6 separate regions of the Homo sapiens genome follow, and all the other regions are linked to region 6. Evidence: promoter capture Hi-C in 16 types of primary human blood cells and fetal thymus (Javierre and others, 2016). All regions are on one chromosome and are shown on one strand. Each heading gives the region's core, a stretch centred on a gene start or on the middle of the fragment in contact. The rest is flanking DNA. Distances are from core to core; before and after follow the strand shown. Region 1 has its middle 67 kb from the start of RGS1. Region 2 overlaps LOC105371664 (a long non-coding RNA gene). Region 3 has its middle 110 kb from the start of RGS1. Region 4 overlaps LOC105371664 (a long non-coding RNA gene). Region 5 has its middle 91 kb from the start of RGS1. Region 6 holds the start of UCHL5 (ubiquitin C-terminal hydrolase L5).

Region 1 (3,917 bases), core at 985-3,484, 550 kb before region 6:
ACAGGAAACTTTAACTGGAGTGAAAGTTATAATTAATCTCTTCGTTATTTTGGTACAGATTACAGTTAAAATGTCACACATTAATTATATTCATGTGTATCATGTGTTGTTAACTACTTAGCTCACTTAAATATCCATTTCCCAGCTGTACTATAAATTCCTCACAGGCTAAGATCATGTTTTAATATTTTTCTGTGTCTCCCAAAAAGCTAAGACAGCCTAGATATATATATTTGGCAATTGGATTGATGAATAAATTAGGTGTGTTGTTTTGGCTTTGCCCGGGGAAAATAAGTTAACTCACTTCAGGCTCCCTTCCCCAGCCACTCCCCACACTCCCCCCGACCCTCCACTGAGTTATCCTATTCTATACCATTGAATAAAACCATTGAGTAAATCCATAAGTTTGATTTCAGCTCTCTGGAAGCATTTGATTCATTGTGAAATTTTTTCTCAAAATTATTATAAAATACAATTTAAAAAGGGAATATATGGAGCAAGAGGACAACAGGGAGATGGTGGAGGAGGAGGAAAAAGAAAATGAAGAAAGCAAAGGAGGAGGAGGGGGAAGAGATGATGAGGATAAAGAAGAAATGTAGAAATTGCAAGTACACAAAATCAGGAATCTTTTAAAAGACTGGTTTTATCCTCAAAATTCTTAGGCATAAACGCCATCTCTCTGAATGACTTAAAAAATCAATATAAAGCTTGATTCTATGGTTTATTGATTCTATATTTCAATTATCCCTAATTAAAATGTCTGCTTTGATTTTAATTTCTAAACAAGGGGAAAAAATTACAGGAATTTCTTTTAAATGTACTATTTCATCCTCAACCCAGTGGATGCCATTCCACTATATTTAGTGAATTCCAGTAATATAAATATATATGATATTCTTGCATATAGATACATATATATTCTTATGCACGAAATTGAGTGGTACTTATTTTCAAAGGATTTAGTAGGAGACGAATATATAAGTGAGTGGCTCTTTCTCCCTAGGATCACAGACCTGTTGCTCCAACTAAAATAAAAAGTATATTCGATTTAAGATATTATGACTCTTTATGATTGACTCAACACATATTTATTGAGCCCTTACTATGCACCTAATACTCTCTTAGTACCTGAATGCTACCTATCCATAAATGAGTGAATAATATTTATAAAGAAATATGGCATAGAAGACTGAAACAGAGAACAACGTGAGATGGAAAATAATCAGGTGCCTTAAATATAATATGGACGATAAGGGCTATTTAAAATCTAAAGGATAGAATAATTGAAGAGTGCTCTGAGATACATTTCCTTATCATCTACACAGCACAACTAATAACATCCTATGAATGTTTTAAATATCAAATGAAATAATAATATATATAAGAAGAGTTAAGTATCCACTATGTATGTAAGAAATTTGCCAGGCACGATGGCTCATGCCTGTAATCCCAGCACTTTTTTGGGAGACCGAGGCGGGCGGATCACGAGGTCAGGAGATCGAGACCATCCTGGCTAACATGGTGAAACCCCATCTCTACTAAAAATACAAACAATTAGCCGGGCGTGGTGGCAGGCACCTGTAGTCCCAGCTACTCGGGAGGCTGAGGCAGGAGAATGGCGTGAACCGGGAAGCGGAGCTTGCAGTGAGCGGAGGTTGCACCACTGCACTCCAGCCTGGGTGAGAGAGCGAGACTCATCAAAAAAAAAAAAAAAAAAAAGAAATTAAAATGGACCAGGTGAAAACAGGCTTACAGAAGTAAAAAAACCTCTAAATTCACATAGAAAGAGACACTGCAACCATGATGAGTATCCACAACATTTCTAGTCCTATGCTTAATAATGTTAAAAGAAAAACTTCAGCCAAATTAAATTTAAAGGAGTTTAATTGAACAATGAACGATTCGTGAATCAGGCAGCTCCCAGAATCATGGCAGATTCAGAAGGACTCCAGGTATGCCTCGTGGTCAGAACAGATTTATAGACAAAAAAAAAGAAAAGTGACGTATAGAAATCAGAGGTGAGGTACAGAACAGCTGGAGTGATTACAGGTTGGCATTTACCTTATTTGAATACAGCTTGAACACTCAGCAGTGAATGACTGGTTGAAGTATGGCTGCTGGGACTGGCCAAGACTCAGCCACTGTTAATAGGCCCATACTCCTAAATTAGGGTTTCAATCTTGTCTACCCACTAGATTAGGCTGCAGTTCCTCCACAAGGACTCAAATATAGTATAGAGTCCTTCTCAGGCCATATTTAGTTTGCTTTAACAATTATGGAAGAATTTTTATAAAGTATTACATAACATCAAGTATTTGATGATAGGAGACATAGGTGATAGGAGATAAAGTCATAGAGACAAGGAGGGCAAAGGTGCACAGCATCTTATAATGATGTTGTCTTCACTCTTACTAAGGTAAGAATTTTTATGAAGTATTACATTCATTAAATATTTGATTGCTTTATCTGTCATACCAGTAAAAATGTGTTCATAAATACATATCATAAGGTGGCAGGCAATAAATACAAAATATGTAGTATGGTACATGTTGATAACTACTAAGGACAAGCACAAGCAGGGAAAAGAGATAGAAATTATGGGTTAGTGGGGGGAATTGTAATTTCAATTTAGATGACCAGAGACAGCCCCACTGAAAAGGTATCATTTGAGCAAAGACCTGAGAGTTGAGGTGAGGAACAATGACATGTAACTATTTGGAGGAACGGCATTTCAGGTAGAAGAACAACATCAGTAGCAGTTCTGACGGGGGTGAGGCCTGTTGTGTTTGAGAAACAGCCAGGTGAGCAGTGTGCCTGGAGGCATGAGTGAGAGGAGGATGATAGGAGACAAAGACACAGAGGCAAGGAGGGTGAAGCTGCACAGCGTCTTATAATGACGTTGTCTTCACTCTTACTAAGGTAAGAAGCCATTAGAAGGTCGTGACCAGAGAAATGAAATTATTGTTTATGGTAGGAGATTATTCTGGCTGGTGTCACTGGTGAAATGGAGAGAATAGTTATAAAGTTATCATTGCAATTAGGTGAAGAGATGATAGGGGCTTGGACCAGGATGGTTGCAGTGAATGTTGTGAGAAGTGTTTGGATCCTCAACTCTACTGTCAAATTGTTTACAGCCCAGTTAGGAGAAAAAGTCTGGGAAACTTTAATGTATTTTTTAAAAAGAGAGAGAAATAAATCGTTAGAAGCTAAATGATATGAGTACAATTACAAATTTAAGAGTGATTTGGGAAAAGCAAATTGAACAATGTGACAGAAAGGTGACTGATTAATAGTGTTTTAATAAAAATAATAATTGCTGACATTCATTGTGTTCATTACATGCCAGGTGCCAGGCATAGTGCCTTACGTGTGATATCTCAATTAATCTCCACCAAAAACCTATGATAAGTTGCTGCTACTGTCCCATTTCCTATATGCTATAAGAGGAAATCAAAGAAAGAATGTCTGGAAAGGTTAATAAGTTGTTCAAAGGACATAGCTGTAATTTCGTCATGATTTGGCTTTCATGAGAGCCCAAGCTCAACACTGACACGCTATTCTGATTTGCCATATAGGTGGAGGGGGAAATAAGACATTCTCAGTGGGTGAATCCATGTGAGTGAAGGTTAGGAATTCAAATGTTTTGTGTGTGCATGAGAATCGCAGGTCTGGAGCAGAAGGTTCATTTTGGGGAACAATAAAAGAAATAGTGGAGACTGAAAAGTATAAACAGATTTTAGAAGTCCTCCAGAGCTAGCCAAAAAAGCTTTCATTGTATCCAGGAGAGCCTGGGAATCTAAGATGAACATGGAAGGAGAAAAATTATTATTATTATTATTTATTATTATTATTATTATTTTGAGACGGAGTCTTGCTCTGTTGCCCAGGCCAGAGTGCAATGGCGTCATTTCAGCTGA
Region 2 (4,172 bases), core at 153-2,652, 530 kb before region 6:
TTAATTGTCATTCTTTTTCTTAATCTATCAGCTGCATTTAACACATAGGCCCCCTCCTTATGAAAATATGTACTTTCTTCAGTTGGTTCCAAGAGATCTCACTCTCTAGGTCTTCTCCCTCTTCCTTTCCCCTCCTTTTTGTTGGATCCTCCCCTTCTTCCCAACCTTTCAATATTGCTCCTTCTTCATAGGTGTTCCCACCAAGTCCTATTTATGTGCTGATGTCCTCCAAGTTTATATCCCGGCCTTCCCCTCTCTCCTAAAATCCAGACTCCTGTATCCAACTATCTTTTCAATATCTCCCCTCGGATCTTTAGAGGGCTTTGCAAATTTAACATTTCTCAAAATGACCTCTTGATTCCCACCCACCCATCCAAACCTATGCTTCCTCCCACAGTCTTCACCTTGTTACTTAATGCCACCATTATTCATCTGTTGCTCTACCCAAAAGCCTAAAGGCATCCTTGGCTCCCCCTCTTTCTCTCTCAACCTACATCATCTCCTTCAGCAAGCCCTGGCCACTCTATATCCGAATTTTACTGTATCTGAATCCTAGACCAAGTGCCATCAGTTTTCCCCTGGATTCCTGCAATAGTCTCCTATCTGGTTTCTCTGCTTCCATTTTTCTACCCTGTTCTCCCATTAATCTATTCTCCAAAGAAAACAGGAATTCTTTTGAAAATATAAACAAAATTCTATCATTTTCCTTCTTGGAAACATCTACTGGTTTCCTATCTCACTCAAAATAAAACCCAAGCTCATTAGGTTGGTCTATGAGATCCTCCTTTATCTGGCCTAGTAACAGCTGATACCTTTAACCCTATCAATCTTTTTGTCACCACCCATTACACTACTGCCACAGAGCCTTTAGATTTGCTGTCTTTTTTTTTTTTTTTTTTTGAGACAGAGTTTCGTTCCTGTTGCCCAGGCTGGAGTTCAATGGTGTGGTCTCGGCTCACTGCAACCTCCACCTCCCAGGTTCAAGTGATTCTCCTGCCTCAGCCTCCCAAGTAGCTGGGATTTGGGATTACAGGCACCCGACACCACGCCTGGCTAGTTTTTTTGTATTTTAGTAGAGATGGGGTTTCAGCATGTTGGCCAGGCTGGTGTCAAACTCCTGACCTCAGGTGATCCACCCACCTTGGCCTCCCAAAGTGCTGGGATTACAGGAATGAGCCACTGCGCCCGGCCCTTGCTGTTCTTTTTGTCCAGATGCACTTCCCTGAGATATTGTTATAACTTGCATTATGACTTTTCTCAGGTCTCTGTTAAAATGTCAGGTCTTCTAAGAGGCTTTTCCTGATTTCCCTTCCTTATTCTCCAACATTGTCCTCTACTTCTTTTCTCTCTCTCATGGCTCATATTATCAGGCATTATATCATTTATTGATGTGCTTATTGTCTTCACCACCATCACCACTAGAATATAAGTTTCATGAAGTCAGGGACTTGATTTGTTTTCTTCTCTGCTATATTCCCAGTGTCTAGAGCAATTCCCAAAAGATCATGGGAACCAGTAAATAATTGTTGAATACAAAAATTCTGAATACAAAAATTACTAATTAAATATGTGTAAGTTATTTGTTAGTAAACTACAAGTTTATATGGACTTAGTCAGTCTCAATGAATTATCTTGATTTTACACAGCCTTCAGTTTAATCTCTACAGAACTACCTGGTACTAATAGCAAAGTTCTATTGTCCATTTCTGTCGGTATAAGCAACAAACATATCATTCACAACTAAATGCAAGTGTAACTTACAAAAGTAATAACTAAACCTGGATATTAACAAGTTCATATTGAACTGCAAGTTAATAAAATACTATCAATAAATCCGAAGGTACATAATATCAAAGAACTTAACACTGCAAACAATACAAAGAACCCACACAATGAAAAAGCAAATGAGTACCACTCATGTGGTAAGCAGCCTGAGGTCACAAAATCATGATAGGAAAAGATCAAGTTCAAATCGTTTGATTCACCTTCACATGACCAACCTATATATATTCCACAGGAAAAAAGAGAACTTGCTATGGTCATTTATTGCCTCTCTCTAGAGTTTCCAGAAGACAGTATGAGGTCTACTCACTAAACCATTCAGTGACCAGATCCAGGAATAATCATTTGTCAGAGGAGAGGCTCACTGAATGATAACAGAATAAACTCAGGCTAACTCACACACCTTAAATAGAATATAGGTTTGCTAAAGGAAACTATCCATGAATATCAAGTTAAGACTCCCACTGGATTCCAGGAACAAAAAGGCTTTCGCTTTTACTCACTTTCACAAGAGCTCTATGCCATTTACTTCTGGCCAAGGAAGTCATGAGTAAAGTCAAATGCTCAGCTTCCATGACAAAATATTGGGGATTTCTCAGGAATAGTTTCCTTCTCTTGAGCAGCTTCAAATATATTTTAAAACTAGGCACGTGCCCAGAGATACACATCCATACACGCAAATATATATAGACATATGCTAACAAAGATATACGACAAGAGGTTACCAAAGATACATGGGTCATGCATGTATTCTTCTAAGTTTTTTTTCTTATTGTCATTTTCATGTTTTGGAAAGGATAATTAGACATGCCTGGAAATTAGGGTATTTGCACAATTTGGGAAAACTCAGTCATGGAAAAGAGGGTTGTGATGTAACATCAGGTACTCTCTACCTCCTTCTTACTCTTTCACTCATATTCCATAGGCTGAATGGTAGCAGAATCAGAAGATTCCTCCTCTTCAGCTTGGGAACCTGTGAGTGGCCAGTACCAGAGAACTGCTACTGACCCATGCAAACTTTTAGAGCTGAAAATAACTATTAGAGTCAAGATGTCACATGATGTGGTTACAGAACTTGCCTTCTAGTCACAGTGATAAACAAACAAACAAAAATGAGTCAAGTTAGGAGAGTAGTAGAAAAATTCTATGCAGAACTGAATAAGTTGTGTGTATATATATAAAATACATAAAAATATATAATAAAACATAATATTTCATTTTTTAAAACAAAAATAATTATATCTCACTGAATCTCTGTGATTTCTTTTTTACCTAGCTTCTCTCAGTGGACTAAAGTAAGATCTATAACTTTTCCCTCTACTTATTGAAGACTTTAATTATATATGCATATAAACAAGTATGTAAAAAATATATCCATCATTTATTAAACAAATATTTCTTGAGCACTAGTATGCAGCAGGCACTGTTCTAGGCACCAGGAAAATACTAATGAACAAAAAGACAAAAATACCTGCTGGGAGTTACATTCTAGTGTGAGGAGACAGGCAGTAAAAACTGGCAATAATATATAGAATTTATATGGTTATAACTGCTGTGAATAAAAATAAATCAGAAAAGGAGGATAAAGGGTTTTGAGAGGTTGCAATTTAAATATCATGGTCAGTGAAAGCATCATTGAGAAGCTAAGATTTTAGTAAAATCTGAAAGAAGTAAGAGAGCAAGTTATTCAGGTATTCAAGGAATATTCCTCCAGGTGGAGGTCACAATTTGGGGGCGGGGAAAAATGGTGCCCAGCACAGTAAAGGAAGATTTGTGAGTGAAGTAAAACACACAAAAAGAAAATACGGTTAGAGGAATTACAGGTCAGATTACTTATAGCCTGTAGGACTTTGGCTTTGCTCTAAGTTAAATAGAAAGTCAATAGAGGATTTTGAGCAAAGGAACGAATAATCAACACTTTTTTTTAAAGAATCACTCTGGTAGCTGTGTTTAGGATAGACTAAAAGTGTGAGATGGAATGGAAAACTTAAAAAGGATGATTAGCTAAGAGGTCATTGCTATAATCCAAACAAAGGATAATCAGTCTTACTTAGAGAAGGTTAGTACCAGAGGAAATGGCAAGAAATATATTTCAATGATTAAAATTAACAGGATGTACCACAGACTAGATGTGAGAGGCATAAAGATTGACTGTAAAGATTGTAGCCTGAGCACCCGGAAAGAAAGGAATTCCTATAAATACACAGAGAGTAGAAAGAATTTACCAAAGGCCAGTTAAGAGTGATGGAAAATACAGACATCCTAATTTTGAGAGGCCAATTAAACATTCAGGTAAAGAGGGGCAACTATATCCTGAATTAAAGGTAGGGATTCAGATAAATATTTAAATTTAGGGAATTTTCAGCATACAAATGGTACCAAAACCATAA
Region 3 (4,185 bases), core at 319-2,818, 590 kb before region 6:
AGACATTGCCACCCTAAGCCTGCACTTTCTCACTACATCTGTTATACAATGATTTATCTCTTAAGCTGCCATGGGCTGCAGCTTCTCTCTTAAACACAGCATTATAATGCTTGTATTTGTATTCTTTCACCACTTAGCTTTCAGTTAATGCACATTATCTGAAAACTTTGTTATATAATCCGCAATCTTTCCTCCAATCCCAATTACTGCAATTATCCTTCCATTTTTACCTGAATGATGGAGTAAAAATCCCTGCTCTTCAGCTTCCTCACTTCTTCATCTCCTTTATTTTTCATCTCCATTCTACCTCTGATAGAACGGAGATGAAGGCCGGGCGCGGTGGCTCACGCCTGAAATCTCAGCACTTTGGGAGGCTGAGGCAGGTGGACCACCAGGTCAGGAGATCGAGACCATCCTGGCTAACATGGTGAAACCCCATCTCTACTAAAAATACAAAAAGAAATTAGCCGGGCGTGGTGGCGGGCGCCTGTAGTCCCAGCTACTCGAGAGGCTGAGGCAGGAGAGTGGCGTGAACCCGGGAGGCGGAGCTTGCAGTGAGCTGAGATCGCGCCACTGCACTCCAGCCTGGGCGACAGAGCGAGACTCCGTCTCAAAAAAAAAAAAAAAAAAAAAAAAAAAAAAGAATGGAGATGAAATTAGAACGTGTCACCATCTCAAATTCCTTCACCTCTTAAATCTTAAACTTTAATTTCCTATCACCAACAATTTTCAGCATTCCGTCTTTCCCTCCCTCTCACTAAGACTACATTTTAAGTCTTTTGAGAAAATTCTGGGAAAAGAAGGCTGAGCCAATGTCTCTGACTCTTCTTTTCTCTTCTTAGAAACTATCCAAAAGTAACAAGGGGAAGAACAGAAAGGGGAAGAACAGAAAAGACCACTACACCTTCAGTAAAATTAACAAAAGCTCATAACCCTGAATGGAAATATACAAAGATGAGCTCTGAAGTACAATGAAAATTGGACCAGGGCATTGACTGCTTGTAGGAGATCTGAGCAGAGCGCTGGTACAGTGCTCAGGGCAGGGCTTGCTCTAGTTGCATCACACCTTAAGGGGCAAACAGTGGTCTCCTGCTAGAATAGCAAGATTCCAGTGGGTGGACAGGCATTGGGAGCCTCCCTGATGCCTTTGTATTACAAAGAAGTGGCCGGGAAGGTGGAACTGAAAGAGGAAATATATAGAAAACTGCCTTTGCTGTGAGAGTGGCGGCATAGAAAATAAAATATAAATAGCAAGCAGTCCTGTACCAGCTAGAAAAGAAGAAAAGATCTCAGCACTCCTGTGCGTGTACATTTGGAAAAACACGTATGTGGGTGACACAGTGGACTTCGCAGAGCCCCCCAGGGGACCTTCCTGCTACCCTAAAATATGGAAGAGTATAACAAAACACTTGGAGAAATCTGTCTGAATTTTTAAACCGCAAGCCCACCTTCCTCTCTGATACCTCTCCCAACTCTTCTTCAAAACTAACCGGTTGTCCAAAATGAGCAATACTTAGGAAATAAAGAAAGAAATAGAAGAAGGATGAGGAGAGGAATTCACTAAACAAAAGGCAGATGATCATTGGTCAAAAAATAAATACAACAAAATAAGTGATTGCTATTTGCACACCTGACTCCCTGCACCAGACTGTAAACCACTATTTTTTGTATTCCCAGCACCAAGCAGAGTGACTTGTACCTAATAAATAGTGCATCTAGATTTGATGAATAAATAAGTGATTTTCTGAAGTAGCATTTCAAATATTACTGATCTTCTCGAGAATATTACTTGGGGTGATTGAGTCTTCCTGGATTTTCTGAAATCAAAGAAATATAAGTAATTTTCTGTGCTAAGTTTAATTAAGGCAGGTCCTTTTTTTGTTCAGTATCCTTAAAGTTTTAATGAAAAGTTGTTCCCATGATGGTGATATGTAAGTTCACAGACGTGGTTTTGCATTTTTTTCTTTTTCTTTTTTTTATTATACTTTAAGTTTTAGAGTATATGTACACAACGTGCAGGTTTGTTACATAGGTATACATGTGCCGTGTTGGCTTGCTGCACCCAATAACTCATCATTTACATTAGGTATTTCTCCTATTGCTATCCCTCCCCCAGCCCCCCACCCCACAACAGGCCCCATTGTGTGATGTTCCCCCCTGTGTGTCCAAATGATCTCATTGTTCAATTCCCACCTATGAGTGAGAACATGCGGTGTTTGGCTTTCTATCCTTGTGATAGTTTGCTGAGAATGATGGTTTCCAGCTTCATCCATGTCCCTGCAAAGGACATGAACTCATCCTTTTTAATGGCTGCATAGTATTACATGGTGTATATGTACCACATTTTCTTAATCCAGTCTATCATTGATGGACATTTGGGTTGGTTCCAAGTCTTTGCTATTGTGAATAGTGCCACAATAAACATACGTGTGCATGTGTCTTTATAGCAGCATGATTCATAATCCTTTAGGTATATACCCCGTAGTGGGATTGCTGAGTCAAATGGTGTTTCGAGTTTTAGAGCCTTGAAGAATCACCACGCTGTCTTCCACAATGGTTGAACTAATTTACACTCCCACTAACAATGTCAAAGCATTCCTATTTCTCCACATCCCCTCCAGCATCTGTTGTTTCCTCACATTTTAATGATTGTCATTCTAACTGGCATGAGATGGTATCTCATTGTGGTTCTGATTTGCATTTCTCTGATGACTAGTGATGATGAGCATTTTTTTTTCATGTGTTTGTTGGCTGCATAAATGTCTTCTTTTGAGAAGTGTCTGTTCATATTCTTTGCCATTTTTTGATGGGGTTGTTCGTTTTTTTCTTTTACATTTGTTTGAGTTCTTCGTAGATTCTGGATATTAGCCCTTTGTCAGATGGGTAGATTGCAAAAATTTTCTCCCATTCTGTAGGTTGCCTGTTCACTCTGATGGTAGTTTTTTTGCCATGTAGAAGCTCTCTAATTTAATTAGATCCCGTTTGTCTATTTTGGCTTTTGTTGCCATTGCTTTTGGTGTTTTAGTCATGAAGTCCTTGCCAATGTAATGCAGATCCTTTTAAAAGTTTAATTAATTCAACAAATATTTGTTGGGTTCTTTACTAAGTGCAGATCAATTTGTGAGGTTCTACCTTGGATCTAAAAACAAGACCTCAAGTTGCACATCTACTATTTAATTAATTCAATTCTTAGTTTTTTTTATTTTTAACTTTTAACTATTACGCGTACATAATAGATGTATATGTTTAAGAGATACATGTGCTGTTTTGATACAGGCATGCAATGTATAATAATCACATAAGGGTAGTTAAGGTATCCATCACCTCAAGCATTTATCATTTCTTTGTGTTAGGGACTTTCCAATTTTACTCTTTTAGTTATTTTGAAATACACAATAAACAGTTGTCAACTATAGTAATGTTGTTATGCTGTCAAATACTAGATCTTATTCATTCTACCTAACTATATTTTTGTACCCATCGATCATTCCCACTTTCCCCCGACCCCTTGTCTCCACTACCCTTCCCAGTTTCTGGTAATTATCATTCAATTCTTTATCCCAGTGAGTTCAGTTGTTTTAATTTTTAGCTCCCACAAATGAATGAAGACGTGTGAAATTTGTCTTTCTGTGCCTGGCTTCATTTAACATGATGTCCTCCAGTTCAATCCATGTTGTTGCAAATGACATGTTTTCATTCTTTTTAATTGCTGAATAATATTCCAATGTACATATGCATACTAAATTTTCTTTATCCATTCACCTATTGATGGACACTTAAGTGGATTCTAAATCTTGGCTATTGTGAATAATACTGCAATAAACGTGGGAGTACAGATAACTCTTTGATATACTGATTTCCTTTCTTTGGATATATACCTAGCAGTGTGACTGCTGGAACATATGGTAGCTTTATTTTTAGTTCTTTAAGGAGTTTCATAAGCTTTAGTTCTTATAAATAGTTTTATACTGTTTCGTATGTGACTGCACTAATTTACATTCCCACTAACAGTTTACAAGGGTTCCCCTTTCTTCACATCCTTGCCAGCATTTATTATTGCCTGTCTTTTGGATAATAGCTATTTTAACTGGGTGAGATGAAATCTCATTGTAGTTTTAATTTGTATTTCTCTGATGATTAATGATGTTGAGCATTTTTTATATACTGCTGCTCATTTGTATGTCT
Region 4 (4,492 bases), core at 418-2,917, 520 kb before region 6:
GACATTCTGTGTTACTTTAAGCTTAATAAATAAATACGGAGTTGGAAGCTTAGAGGGAAAATGTTTATCAAGAAAGCAGATATTGACTCTCATTGGCCTAGATCTAATTCCTATAGCAAACAATAAAGCAATGTTGGAGAAAGACAAAGTAGCAATTTATTTAGCTATTATTGTTCTTTCAGGGGTCACGGCCTTATACTTAGAGGTAAGTTCTTATATTCCACTATTTTCTAGAATTGGAGCGACTTATCCTTATAATAGAACTGTATTGAACATTTTGCTATTCCTTTAGCTCACCAAACTTTTTTTTATTCTTTATTTTTTATTTTTCTTGTGATAGGGTCTCACTCTATTTGTCCAGGCTACTGCAGTGCGGTGGCATAGGGTTCGCTGTAACCTGGAACTCCTGGGCCCAAGCAATCCTCCCGCCTCAGCTTCCCAAGTAGCTAGGATTATAGGCGCATGCCACCATGCCCAGCTAATTTTTAAAAAATTGTTTTAGAAGTAGGGTCTTGCTACATTGAGCAGGTTGGTCTTGAACTCCTGGCTTCATGTGATCCTCCTGTCTCAGCCTCCCAAGGCACTGGGATTACAGGAGTGAGCCACTGCACCCAGTCATAGCCCACCAAACTTTCTTAAACCTGTATTTTCAAATAGACTGTGTCCTCTATCTAAGAGGATGCCCCCAACACACTCCTTATTGGACAACCTCATATTCATCTTTTCATAGACAATATAAGGGCCATGTTTATGACCACTTTTCTGATTCCTTCTAGAGATAAATTCTTTCATGCTTCCAAAACCCTGCATGCACAGTTTTAGTACAGCACTTAACTTTATTTATTTACAACAAGTAAATCCTCTTTTTTCCCCTGTGTAGACTGTGACTACATAAAAGCATGGAGTTCACCTATTTCATGTATAATTTTTAAAGCTCAGCAATGTTTAGCACTTTTCATGGAACAAGCATGTATTCATACATTTAAAAGATGAAGAGAGAAAAGGAGGGGAGGAAAATGAAAAGACATGAAGATACTTGAGTAGCTAGTATTCTGATGCAAGTTAGTTTCTGTTTATTAGAAGATTTGGAAGCAAGCAGCAAGGTCAAAGCTATCTTCTTATTTCTGTTTGCATGTAAAGTTGTGGAAACATAAGGTGTTTCTAGAGTAAACTGCCGGCACCTATTCCACAGGTTCTTGGGTGTCAAGAGTCAATACCTAGCTTGTAGCTATGAGAATCCACTTTCGGGTGTTATTAGTGTTGGAAGGCAGTTGCAATGGTAGCAGTGCCCCACTTCTTAATTCCAGCATTCTAACGACTGCATAGCAGCTCCAGGAATTGTTCCTAAACTTACAGCTTTAGTGAAGACCTCAGAGGCAGTAGCTTCCTAGTGGAGTCAATCTGGGGTCAGTCCTGAACACCCAGCCTACTATCCTCTCCTTTAACATTTCAATAATTGTTTAAGTACATCATGTCCCGTATTTTTAAAATCCTTCTTGCTTAAAATACCTATAGTGGTAATTTCTGTTTCCGTTAGTGCATCCTGACAAAATAAGAGGGAACAAAGGGAAGGAGAGGAGAGAAAAGAGAGAAAAAGAAGTCTCGGCATATAACAACTTAATTTCAATCCCTGCACTGAGAGACCTGACCCACAGTAGCTAGTATGGTTTCTAAGCGGCCTAAGTTCACACCCCTGGTATGACCCAACCATCTCATGAATTTCTGCCTTCAAAAGCTCATGGGTGTCAAAAGCATTTCCTGTTTGTTCTGGCTAATACCTGATGATAGGCCCCTGATATTTCCTTCTCAGTGCACTTATTAAAAAAGGATTATAATTGTGAATCCTGTCTCTTTCCCTTTGGAGATATATATGCAGCTCCTACGACTTCACTCGCTCCCTGTCCCTACTCCCTCATTTTCCCTTTAAAGCACTCAGTCACTTCTGCACAAATCAGAATGGAGTTCAGCTCTTTCTTCTTCTTTTTTTTTTTTTTTTTAACTTTTTTAGAGACAGGATCTTGCTATGTTGCCCAGGTTGAGCTCAAACTCCTGGCCTCAAGCAATCCTCCTGCCTCGGCCTCCTAAAGCACTGGGATCAGTTCTTTCTCCTGTTGTCAGTCGTTTCTGAAGAAAATCTGTTTTCACTGCTGTAATGTCTGGCTTTATCTTAGACAAGAGAGACTTATTCTTTCTGCTCTTTTTCTTCAACTTTTGTAGGTCAACTGATAGCCAATTAGATTATAAGAATAATTTTTTATTTCTATAAAAATATAACATTGGTTCATTTTAAACAATATAGATCATTAAATATCATAATGATTTATTATGAAACCACATTTTCTATATATCTTTTAATGGAGAGATAGTGTTCTCTCTCCAGAATATTTAACCTGTGATTTTACCTAAAGTCTGACAGACTAAATACTTCAAGTACTACTCAGTATTATGAACCAATCCCATAAATATTAGAACTTTCTAGTCCACATATAGTTTCAAAGTAAACACTAATAAACAACATGACTCCAAAATTCATCTGCAGAAACTACAATTTAGTGTAGGAACTATAAACTACAAAATAAATTAACATTAATAGAATCGTTCTTTGGCTGGGCACAGTGGCTCACACCTGTAATCCCATCACTTTGGAAGGCAGAGGTGGGTGGATCACCTGAGGTCAGGTGTTCAAGACCAGCCTGGCCAACATGGTGAAACCCCATCTCTATAAAAATGCAAAAATTAGCTGGGCATGATGGCAGGTGCCTGTAATCCCAGCTACTCGGGAGGCTGAGGCAGGAGAATCGCTTGAACCCGGGAGGCAGAGGGTGCAGTGAGCCTAAATCGCACCATTGCACTCCAGCCTGGGTGACAGAGCAAGACTTCATCTCAAAAAAAAAAAAAAAAAAGAATTGCTTTTGTCAATTGATGAAAAAAGGAAATTCCAACTGATGCTTTAAAAGAGAAATTGCCTGGAGTAGAGAAAGACTGTAAGAGTTCTACTCTCTTTGGCCTTCGATTAAACAGAAATATTTCAGAGGAGCTTGAATCCTTTGAAACACACTTATACTGCACAGCGTGTTGCTATCCTCATTTCTGTTACTTAGGTTTTGCATTTTCAGGAAATGAGTAATTTGCCAAACATGCAGAGTCCCATTATTTAGATTCAGTTCTCTTGAAGGGATAAAAACAGTTGTTTAAGAGGGACTCGAAGATTCTTCACATTTTAAGCGTAATATACTTGTAAATGTTTCTCACTTGGAAGAAACTGCTGACAGGTGTGGTTGTGGGTTAAGCTTTAAGAAAGCTTGAGAAATTCCCCTGTTGACTAAGTATCAATTCACTGTAGTCCCAGAGCGATCGCCTCTGGACATCCCCTTTGAACTTTTTTTTTCCTCTAAAGGGGTTCATGCAAGAACTGTGATACACTGTATGTTCCTTCCTAAAAAGAAAGTACCTCCATGGACAACTTGAAAATTTCCAGCAACAGTAAACTTATTACCATTTTTCTCATCATTCCTAATCATTTTTAATGAGGAAGTGCAAACAGCTTGGAATCAGGAGCTATAGACTGTGAATGAAAAATGCAAACAACCTGGAATCAAGAGCTATAGATTGTGAATGAGTAGTCTCATTTAATCTCCACTGCATTCACTCCTAGAGAAGCTTGGAAAATTTCCCCACCTTTAAAATAAAATGGTAATTTTTTCAACTTGTAACCTCATAGAAATAGCACAAACATTAAAAAACAGAATCTGTATCAAAATATGTGAATTCTTTGAGGGACATTAATATTTTTGGCTACAATATTGGGATTATAATGGTAATTATTTGGAAAAATAGTATTATAAAACTTAATACTATTTTTCCAAATAATTACCATTATAATCCCAATATTGGCTATTCCAAGAAATTTAGCTAAAATAGCTGATGGGATTATCCCCACTTTTAAAGAATATTTCACTGAGAATACTAACAACTTCACTCTTACTACTTCCTCTTTTTAAAGTAAAGGCGATCTGAAGAAAGCATAAATGCACAAAAATATTGTACGATAGTCAAAAATAAGAGGGCATAGAAGATGGAATAAGCTGAATGCCTTTCTGGATGCAATCCCTATTGAAAGTCATATCTGAGGTTTGTATCAAAATCATGAGCTGAGATGGTATCCAAGGCAGGAAGGAGCAGATGCAGGCTGAGGAAGGACCTGTGTGTGAGGATTGCCTGAGGACTCAGAATACTGGGTAACTGCATGCATTAGGGAACTTGAAACCACCCACCATTAAGTACGAAACATGATTTCAACATGTTAAGGTGGCTTCTAATGGGTCTTAGCAGTTTATGGTTTCCAGGCTCCATTTAACTAATATCACAGAGACTTTCATTAATGCATGAAATACTGATGTACCTAATCTCTGCAGTCTTCATAAAATAATGACTCACTTTTGAAGTAGATGCTGGTACTTCTTTGGTACATTTGTGTCTTCTCTTTTTCATG
Region 5 (4,288 bases), core at 864-3,363, 570 kb before region 6:
GAACTTTAAGGTAGTTTTTTCCAATTCTGTGAAGAAAGTCATTGGTAGCTTGATGGGGATGGCATTGAATCTATAAATTACCTTGGGCAGTATGGCCATTTTCACGATATTGATTCTTCCTACCCATGAGCATGGAATGTTCTTCCATTGGTTTGTATCCTCTTTTATTTCACTGAGCAGCGGTTTGTAGTTCTCCTTGAAGAGGTCCTTCACGTCCCTTGTAAGTTGAATTCCTAAGTATTTTATTCTCTTTGAAGCAATTGTGAATGGGAGTTCACTCATGATTTGGCTCTCTGTTTGTCTGTTATTGGTGTATAAGAATGCTTGTGATTTTTGTACATTGATTTTGTATCCTGAGACTTTGCTGAAGTTGCTTATCAGCTTAAGGAGATTTTGGGCTGAGACAATGGGGTTTTCTAGATACACAATCATGTCGTCTGCAAACAGGGACAATTTGACTTCCTCTTTTCCTAATTGAATACCCTTTATTTCCTTCTCCTGCCTCCTGCCAGGGCAATTGCCCTGGCCAGAACTTCCAACACTATGTTGAATAGGAGTGGTGAGAGAGGGCATCCCTGTCTTGTGCCAGTTTTCAAAGGGAATGCTTCCAGTTTTTGCCCATTCAGTATGATATTGGCTGTGGGTTTGTCATAGATAGCTCTTATTATTTTGAGATACGTCCCATCAATACCTAATTTATTGAGAGTTTTTAGCATGAAGGGTTGTTGAACTTTGTCAAAGGCCTTTTCTGCATCTATTGAGATAATCATGCGGTTTTTGTCTTTGGTTCTGTTTATATGCTGGATTACATTTATTGATTTGTGTATATTGAACCAGCCTTGCATCCCAGGGATGAAGCCCACTTGATCATGGCGGATAAGCTTTTTGATGTGCTGCTGGATTCGGTTTGCCAGTATTTTATTGAGGGTTTTTGCATCAATGTTCATCAAGGATATTGGTCTAAAATTCTCTTTTTTGGTTGTGTCTCTGCCCGACTTTGGTATCAGGATGATGCTGGCCTCATAAAATGAGTTAGGGAGGATTCCCTCTTTTTCTATTGATTGGAACAGTTTCAGAAGGAATGGTGCCAGTTCCTCCTTGTACCTCTGGCAGAATTTGGCTGTGAATCCATCTGGTCCTGGACTCTTTTTGATTGGTAAGCTATTGATTATTGCCACAATTTCAGCTCCTGTTATTGGTCTATTCAGAGATTCAACTTCTTCCTAGTTTAATCTTGGGAGAGTGTATGTGTCGAGGAATTTATCCATTTCTTCTAGATTTTCTAGTTTATTTGCATAGAGGTGTTTGCAGTATTCTCTGATGGTAGTTTGTATTTCTGTGGGATCGGTGGTGATGTCCCCTTTATCATTTTTTATTGCGTCTATTTGATTCTTCTCTCTTTTTTCTTTATTAGTCTTCCAAGCGGTCTATCAATTTTGTTGATCCTTTCAATATTCAACATTCTTAAAGAAAAGAATTTTCAACCCAGAATTTCATATCCAGCCAAACTAAACTTCATAAGTGAAGGAGAAATAAAATACTTCACAGACAAGCAAATGCTGAGAGATTTTGTCACCACCAGGCCTGCCCCAAAAGAGCTCCTGAAGGAAGCACTAAACATGGAAAGGAACAACCGGTACTAGCCGCTGCAAAATCATGCCAAAATGTAAAGACCATCGAGACTAGGAAGAAACTGCATAAACTAACGAGCAAAATCACCAGCTAACATCATAATGACAGGATCAAATTCACACATAACAATATTAACTTTAAATGTAAATGGACTAAATTCTCCAATTAAAAGACACAGACTGGCAAGTTGGATAAAGAGTCAAGACCCATCAGTGTGCTGTATTCAGGAAACCCATCTCACGTGCAGAGACACACATAGGCTCAAAATAAAAGGATGGAGGAAGATCTACCAAGCAAATGGAAAACAAAAAAAGGCAGGGTTTTCAATCCTAGTCTCTGATAAAACAGACTTTAAACCAACAAAGATCAAAAGAGACAAAGAAGGCCATTACATAATGGTAAAGGGATCAATTCAACAACAAGAGCTAACTATCCTAAATATATATGCACCCAATACAGGAGCACCCAGATTCATAAATCAAGTCCTGAGTGACCTACAAAGAGACTTAGACTCCCACACAATAATAATGGGAGACTTTAGCACCCCACTGTCAACATTAGACAGATCAACGAGACAGAAAGTTAACAAGGATACCCAGGAATTGAACTCAGCTCTGCACCAAGCGGACCTAATAGACATCTACAGAACTCTCCACCCCAAATCAACAGAATATACATTTTTTTCAGCACCACACCACACCTATTCCAAAATTGACCACATACTTGGAAGTAAAGCTCTCCTCAGCAAATGTAAAAGAACAGAAATTATAACAAACTGTCTCTCAGACCACAGTGCAATCAAACTAGAACTCAGGATTAAGAAACTCATTCAAAACCGCTCAACTACATGGAAACTGAACAACCTGCTCCTGAATGACTACTGGGTACATAACGAAATGAAGGCAGAAATAAAGATGTTCTTTGAAACCAACGAGAACAAAGACACAACATACCAGAATCTCTGGGACGCATTCAAAGCAGTGTGTAGAGGGAAATTTATAGCACTAAATGCCCACAAGAGAAAGCAGGAAAGATCCAAAATTGACACCCTAACATCACAATTAAAAGAACTAGAAAAGCAAGAGCAAACACATTCAAAAGGTAGCAGAAGGCAAGAAATAACTAAAATCAGAGCAGAACTGAAGGAAATAGAGACAAAAAAAAACCTTCAAAAAATTAATGAATCCAGGAGCTGGTTTTTTGAAAGGTTTTTTGAAAGGACCACCACAATATTTTTAAGAAATAATTCCACTATGTCTGCTTTCTGATCAACTCTCTTTGGTTAACAGGTTTGCATTGAAAGTTAAACAGTGATTTGAATTTACATTAGTGCCAATTTTGCTTCAATTTTATGGCGGCATTATTTGTACCCTGTTGAATGGTGAGATGAATTTTCTATTAATGCTAATTCGCCCCTGTCCCCATGAAAGTAAAACTAGATTAAATAAACTGTAATAATTTTCATAGAAAATAGTAGACTTATTATTTGGAGTGTGGTGTTTCCCCAGCCAAGCTCTTAAGATTGTGCAACATTTTACTTGGTTTTATTCCATGGTTTAGGCTGGCACTGACCCAACCAGTGCTCTTGAAAACACATGCTGAAGGTCACATTAGGGAAGAATATGAGTGGGTGAGTGAGTCAGTGCATGTCCACTAACTCCTCTAGAATAAACAAATATCTGTCTGACCAGGTATTAATCAACTTAGTAGGTGGAAAGCTTATTTAAAAAAAGAATTCCTTCTAGATGCCAGCAGAAAATAGGTTACCAAAGAACTGATTTGGCCAAAACTTTTCCTATAGAATTACTAAAGGTTAAAACACTTACTACATTCTAAATTAAAAGAATTATCTACTGCTAGAAGTTTCTGGAAGCCATATTCCTTAGGAACAACTCAAATCTTTGGCCTCAATGTAATTTATCAAAGTGTCTTTCCCCAAATCTCACTGTTACCAGTAAATTACACCATATTACTCATTCCTAAGGCAGATGAGAAATGTCATCCCATTATTGCCTTATATTTCCTAGAGTGAACTGACCAGTTGTATATTGGTAATTGCATAAATTCCTTGAGGGCAGGAACTATGCCTGGTGAAGTTATAGACATATCATACATATGTAATGAATATTTACTGAATTTTACATCATGACAAATTCTACCACAATTTCATGAGAACTTAAAAAATAAGTTTGCAAGAAAATATTTTATAATGGTGGTACATATTGAGACCATTTTAGAAGACTACTGTGTTACACAACACTGTTACCTAAGAGGAAAATAAATTGGCATGTAGTTATCCAAACTCAGTAATCATTTTTAGGGTAAATGATGAGATCACACTATATTAACATATTTATTAATGATGATCATAAAGCAATACTTCCACAAAAATAATCACCACAAACTTAGAGTGAAGTGAGTATAAGGTGATTTACTAACAGATGCTCAATGAGGATCAAATAAATACAAGAAATTGTAAAATTTAAAATTGTGAGCATCCAAATGTTAGCATAAAATTCATTTTCCTTTCACATTTTATTTTGAAAGTTTTGAAATCAACAGAAAAGATGCAAAAATAATATAACATCCATAGACTCCTTGTCTCGATTCCTCAATGTTAACCTTTTTTAATTTTATTTTTATTTTTATTATACTT
Region 6 (4,354 bases), core at 1,482-3,981:
ACATTCTACCAAAATCTGTATTTACATACTTACTGCATCTACAATTCATTTCCCTTTCAATGATGGAACTTTTGAAATGAATTTATGACAGCATTCACAATACAGGTATTTCATTTTTGAAAGAATCAACAGCCAAAAGCTTTTTTAAATCTATAAATTGGGTGAAAAAATGAAAATGATGGAAATAATTGGAATAAACTGATTTTCTCTTTGAAGCATCTGATGGTGACATAAACTACCACCATTTAATTGTTTGCAGGTTCTTCTGCTAATGAAGCCAATTTATTAATAGCTGCTGATTTTTCATATGTGCATGTACAGAAGATGAATTTATATATCATTCTTTCATGCATGATCTCCAAGTTTTCTGCACATATGAAATTGAAGGAGTAAAAACAAACTTACCTAGTACAACATTTCTGAAAGTTAACTTTAACATATTGTTAAGGTTTTGAACGTAAAATATATGACTAAATCTGCAGACATGTCAAACTCAGTGTCTGTCCAAATCTGAATCCATTTTCTTGTCCATCAAGCCTGCTCTTCACTTGTAAGAGTGTTTCACCAGCCACCCAGGCTAGAAACCAGGGAGTTATTTTTGCCTCTTTTTTTCCCCAACTTTTAGTAAGCAGTCCTTTTGATTTTTTTTCTCTTATGTAGGAGTAATATACTACCACTCAACCTCTACTGTAAGGTTGGCAGCCCTGAGAACTCCTTTTTTAATTTAGCGTGTTATGGATGTATTTCTGCTCCCAAAGGAATGAAGAGCAGACATTACCACATGCAACTGTTGATTTAAATATAGCAAACTTATTGAATCTAACTCCTCCTTCCTAACCCACTAGTTTAGCCAATCATCTCGGACTCCAACCATTTTAAGAGATGTCTAGCTTCTCTCACTTTATTCCAACCTGCCCTGCACACTTAAAAGCACAATAAACCTTAATTATGAAAATAATGTCATTTCAGCATTAAAATATATTTGATAGGTAAATCCCCAGTCACTACAGGGCAATTCAAACTATACAACATGGCATACAATCTGTCCTCAGTTTATCTTTTCAGTTTCAGATCCAAATAAATATTCCTCCAGTCTGCTATATTATGTTCTAGTCACTTTGCTAGCTGTTGGCTAACCCATATACTTTAACATCACTACTGTTTATGCTTTTCCTTCTGGCTGTGCTCCTCCATGACCTGTGTACTTTTAACATTTTGTATATACTCTAACATAGCAATTAACACACCATATTATAGTTTGACTGTCAATTATTCGAAACAGCAGTTATGGTTTATTCACATGAAAATTTCCCAATCCTTGGGTGGGCGCGTGGCTCACGCCTGTAATCCCAACACTTTGGGAGGCCGAGGCGGGTGGATCACGAGGTCAGGAGCTGAGACCAGCCTGGCCAGCATGGTGAAACCCTGTCTCTACTAAAAAAAAAAAAATTAGCCGGGCATGGTGGCGCGTGCCTGTAATCCCAGCTACTCGGGAGGCTGAAGTAGGAGATTCGCTTGACCCCGAGAGATGGAGGTTGCAGTGGGCCAAGATCGCGCCACTGCACTCCAGCCTGGGCGACAGAGCGAGACTCTGTCTCAAACAAAAAAAAGAAAATTTCCCAATCCTTACCACTGTGCCTGAGATATAGAAGATGAACAACATATGCTTGATAAATGACATTCCAAATATTAAGCTGTGTACAACAGGCAATATCTACATCAACGTTTAATTGTTAATCCCGCGTAAAAGTTTTAACATCGTAGAGTCAATAACACTTGGGAAATAGATAAAAACGTACTGTCCAAAGAAGAGACTAAGAACAAGATAAATAGGGAAGGATAAAAAGTAAAATGTGTTGATTATTTAGGACGAAAGGCACTAAATACAGCCAGAGAGAAACTGTGAGGAAAGCATGTGGCCTCTAGTCTAGAACACTAGCTCAAGAAAACTCACTTCACCGGAAGCCAGAAATGAGCAGAGAGCGGAACCAGTGAAGTGGCCTTTCAGGCCCACGCAGTCAGCGTGTGTGGACGTCCCGAAGAGCTATTCACACATTCAAGGCGTTCTGCTTTGAATAACCAGAATCTCGAGTTCCTGGGCGGCTTGAGCCGCAGACACCTCACCCTTGAGAAGGCGCACCCTAGGGTGGCTTCTGCAGGACTAATGGCCTGAGCAATGCACTTGACCTCACCAGCCCGGGATAAGGTGCGCGCCGCAGAGAAGGGGCAGTGCAAAGGGCAATACGTGCTTAAGAGCTTGGGGAGCGAGGGCCCTCAAGTCAATTACAGGATTTGGGTGCCAGGTCCTGAGGATGCAGCAGGCACAAGACTGACACGATCCTTGCCCTCGTGGTGTGGCTCTACAAATTACTGTGGAAACGCGACTGTCTCGAGCTGAGGAGAGGGCAGAACATCTACATTTCCCCCACCCGGACTCCAGGTTCCTGAAGTCACCTCTCCAGACGCGGGGCGGCGGTGGCCGCAGGGAACCACTCCATGCCCAGCTTGGGCCTCCTCCCGTGACCCCAGGCCCAGGACGGTCCCCTTGGTTCTCACCGAATCCTTTAATGAGCTCGGTGAAGACCCCGGGGTCGCTTTCCATGAGGCACCACTCCCCGGCATTGCCCGTCATGGCCCTGGCCACACACCGCCCCGATCCACCTCTCGCTCTCAGCTGCCCCCCGCACCAGCTGCCGCCGGCCACAGATCTCAGCAAACCCGCCGCCGAGCTCGTCAACCACACGTCACCCCGCCTACTTCCCGACAGCCTCCGGGCGCCGTCACCTGCAGCGCGACTGAGCGCGGGAGGACGCTCTAGCCACCCTAGAGACATCGAAACTCTTCCCAGGCCTTGCAGCACCCGTAGCGGATTCGGAAGGGCTGGGGCCTGAGAAGAAAGGGCGGTGATTCACAGCGCCGAGGAGGCAACATCCGGGATCCTCGCCCCTCTGGGGCGGAGGCGGGGCAAAAGAAGAGGGGCAGGACTCGTTCCCGGGAACCGAACCTGGAATCCCCGGCGGCAGTGGGGCTGTTGCTGTTGCTGTGGCTGTCGCTGCCCGTCAGGCTGCCTTCTTTTGTCGTTTCCCAGCGCTGCGCAGGACTTCTCCTGGCGGCGCTGCGGATCCAGGGGGTCGGCTGCCAGGTACAGGTGAGGACATTGCGGGAGGCCGGCTGGGAGCCTTTTGTGCGGCCCCAGGGACGCGCAAATTCTGACCAGTCCTCCATGTCTCTCACCCGCATCCCAGGGGTTGAGGCTGGGCAAACGCCGCGAAACTATCGCTCTTCCCCGTCCCGCTTCCGCGCCTGTCCACCCTGGGTAACGGAACCAGCATCGCGGTAGGGACATCCTCGCTAGGCCCGGCCGGACCATTCCTCAGGGTGGGCCCTTTCCGAAGCCGGGACCGCTCCTGCTTGTCGGCATCGCTCCCCACAGGCCGACGTCGAGAGGGCCTGCTTTACTCCTCCTCTTTCTCCTCCTTCTCCCGCGGCTTCTGCGCGGAGAGGCGTCGCCCGGGATCTGGGTTTTGGAAGAAGGATCTTTGTGGGAAGACAGGGTGAATTTATCACAGAGGAATAACGAGGGAGAGGAGAAAGGTTTGTCCATGGGGCTGCTAGACTAGTGGAAGGGGATGCGGTGCGTCAAGGGAAAATTAGGTTGAAAACAAATGTCGTGTATTAATCTAAAAACATTTGGAATGGTTCTAAAACTGGATGATGAGTTAAACCAAATATTTACTAAATATTTACTAAATTGCCCTCATTCAGCAGGCTCTTATAGAATACTATAGTGTTAAGATTAAAGTTTTTAAGAGTATATTGAAGTCGTTAAGTGTATATTTACTCCTTAAAAGCTACATATTCCAAGAAAGACCTTTGGCTTCCAGAAAAAAAAAATGTTTTAGTGGGTAAAACTCTGACTCCTTCCTTCTCAAATAGGTGACTTGTGCCCTGGAGTTAGGGAGCCTTGTGCTACAGATTATGTGAAGCCATGAAATAAACGTGGTAAATTTTATTGAGGGAAGCAACAGAGCAGCTTTTGTATTAAAAGGAGCCTGAGTACGCTATGGGGTAGAAGCCAAAATTTGTATGAAGTGTTGGTTTAAAAAAAATTTTTTTTGTAACTTTCTTGAAGTTTATCTCCGGAAACTCTGCCCTCAACTTGGAGACTAGGAGGATTCTGTACAGTATATTTCCTTGAGATACTTTATTGGAAAAGTTTAAGAGGCACAGAGTCCAGAATGATTGGCATCAGAGCCCAAAGTAGTTTGTGGTATTTTTTTTAATCTGTAATATTGCTATGAACTTGAAAATGTTTTCTGTGCAAAATACATCAAAACTAAAATGTACTTGATAC

The links. Contacts are between HindIII fragments. The CHiCAGO score rates a contact against its expected background, and 5 or more counts as called.
Region 1: a contact is called between a fragment that was not itself captured here and the fragment with the promoter of UCHL5 in region 6, in 7 of 17 cell types (neutrophils, total B cells, naive B cells and 4 more). The highest score is 10.9, in neutrophils.
Region 2: a fragment that was not itself captured here is called in contact with the fragment with the promoter of UCHL5 in region 6 in 1 of 17 cell types (neutrophils); the score reaches 10.6 in neutrophils.
Region 3: a contact is called between a fragment that was not itself captured here and the fragment with the promoter of UCHL5 in region 6, in 5 of 17 cell types (neutrophils, total B cells, naive B cells and 2 more). The highest score is 13.7, in neutrophils.
Region 4: a fragment that was not itself captured here is called in contact with the fragment with the promoter of UCHL5 in region 6 in 10 of 17 cell types (neutrophils, M2 macrophages, M1 macrophages and 7 more); the score reaches 10.7 in neutrophils.
Region 5: a fragment that was not itself captured here is called in contact with the fragment with the promoter of UCHL5 in region 6 in 2 of 17 cell types (neutrophils and M1 macrophages); the score reaches 8.6 in neutrophils.

The regions. Positions count from the first base shown.
Region 1 is chr1:192,506,970-192,510,886 of GRCh38, forward strand. No RefSeq gene overlaps it. Among named protein-coding and RNA genes, the nearest start is that of RGS1, 67 kb to the right of the region's middle. The HindIII fragment of the contact is 3,059 bases long and covers 706-3,764 here.
Region 2 is chr1:192,525,312-192,529,483 of GRCh38, forward strand. The region is part of intron 4 of LOC105371664 (a long non-coding RNA gene); the gene reads right to left. Among named protein-coding and RNA genes, the nearest start is that of RGS1, 48 kb to the right of the region's middle. The HindIII fragment of the contact is 6,156 bases long and covers 1-4,172 here.
Region 3 is chr1:192,462,824-192,467,008 of GRCh38, forward strand. No RefSeq gene overlaps it. Among named protein-coding and RNA genes, the nearest start is that of RGS1, 110 kb to the right of the region's middle. The HindIII fragment of the contact is 4,743 bases long and covers 1-3,940 here.
Region 4 is chr1:192,541,951-192,546,442 of GRCh38, forward strand. The region is part of intron 4 of LOC105371664 (a long non-coding RNA gene); the gene reads right to left. Among named protein-coding and RNA genes, the nearest start is that of RGS1, 32 kb to the right of the region's middle. RefSeq lists an enhancer at 3,200-3,259. The HindIII fragment of the contact is 3,242 bases long and covers 47-3,288 here.
Region 5 is chr1:192,482,679-192,486,966 of GRCh38, forward strand. No RefSeq gene overlaps it. Among named protein-coding and RNA genes, the nearest start is that of RGS1, 91 kb to the right of the region's middle. The HindIII fragment of the contact is 2,469 bases long and covers 880-3,348 here.
Region 6 is chr1:193,056,629-193,060,982 of GRCh38, forward strand. UCHL5 (ubiquitin C-terminal hydrolase L5) reads right to left here and starts at 2,732. Exons shown (of 11, transcript NM_001199261.3): 1 at 2,557-2,732. The coding sequence starts at 2,632. RO60 (Ro60, Y RNA binding protein) reads left to right here and starts at 2,984. Exons shown (of 9, transcript NM_001173524.2): 1 at 2,984-3,148. It also overlaps SCARNA18B. RefSeq lists enhancers at 2,084-2,393, 2,418-3,150, 2,554-3,083, 3,151-3,883. The HindIII fragment of the contact is 5,498 bases long and covers 138-4,354 here.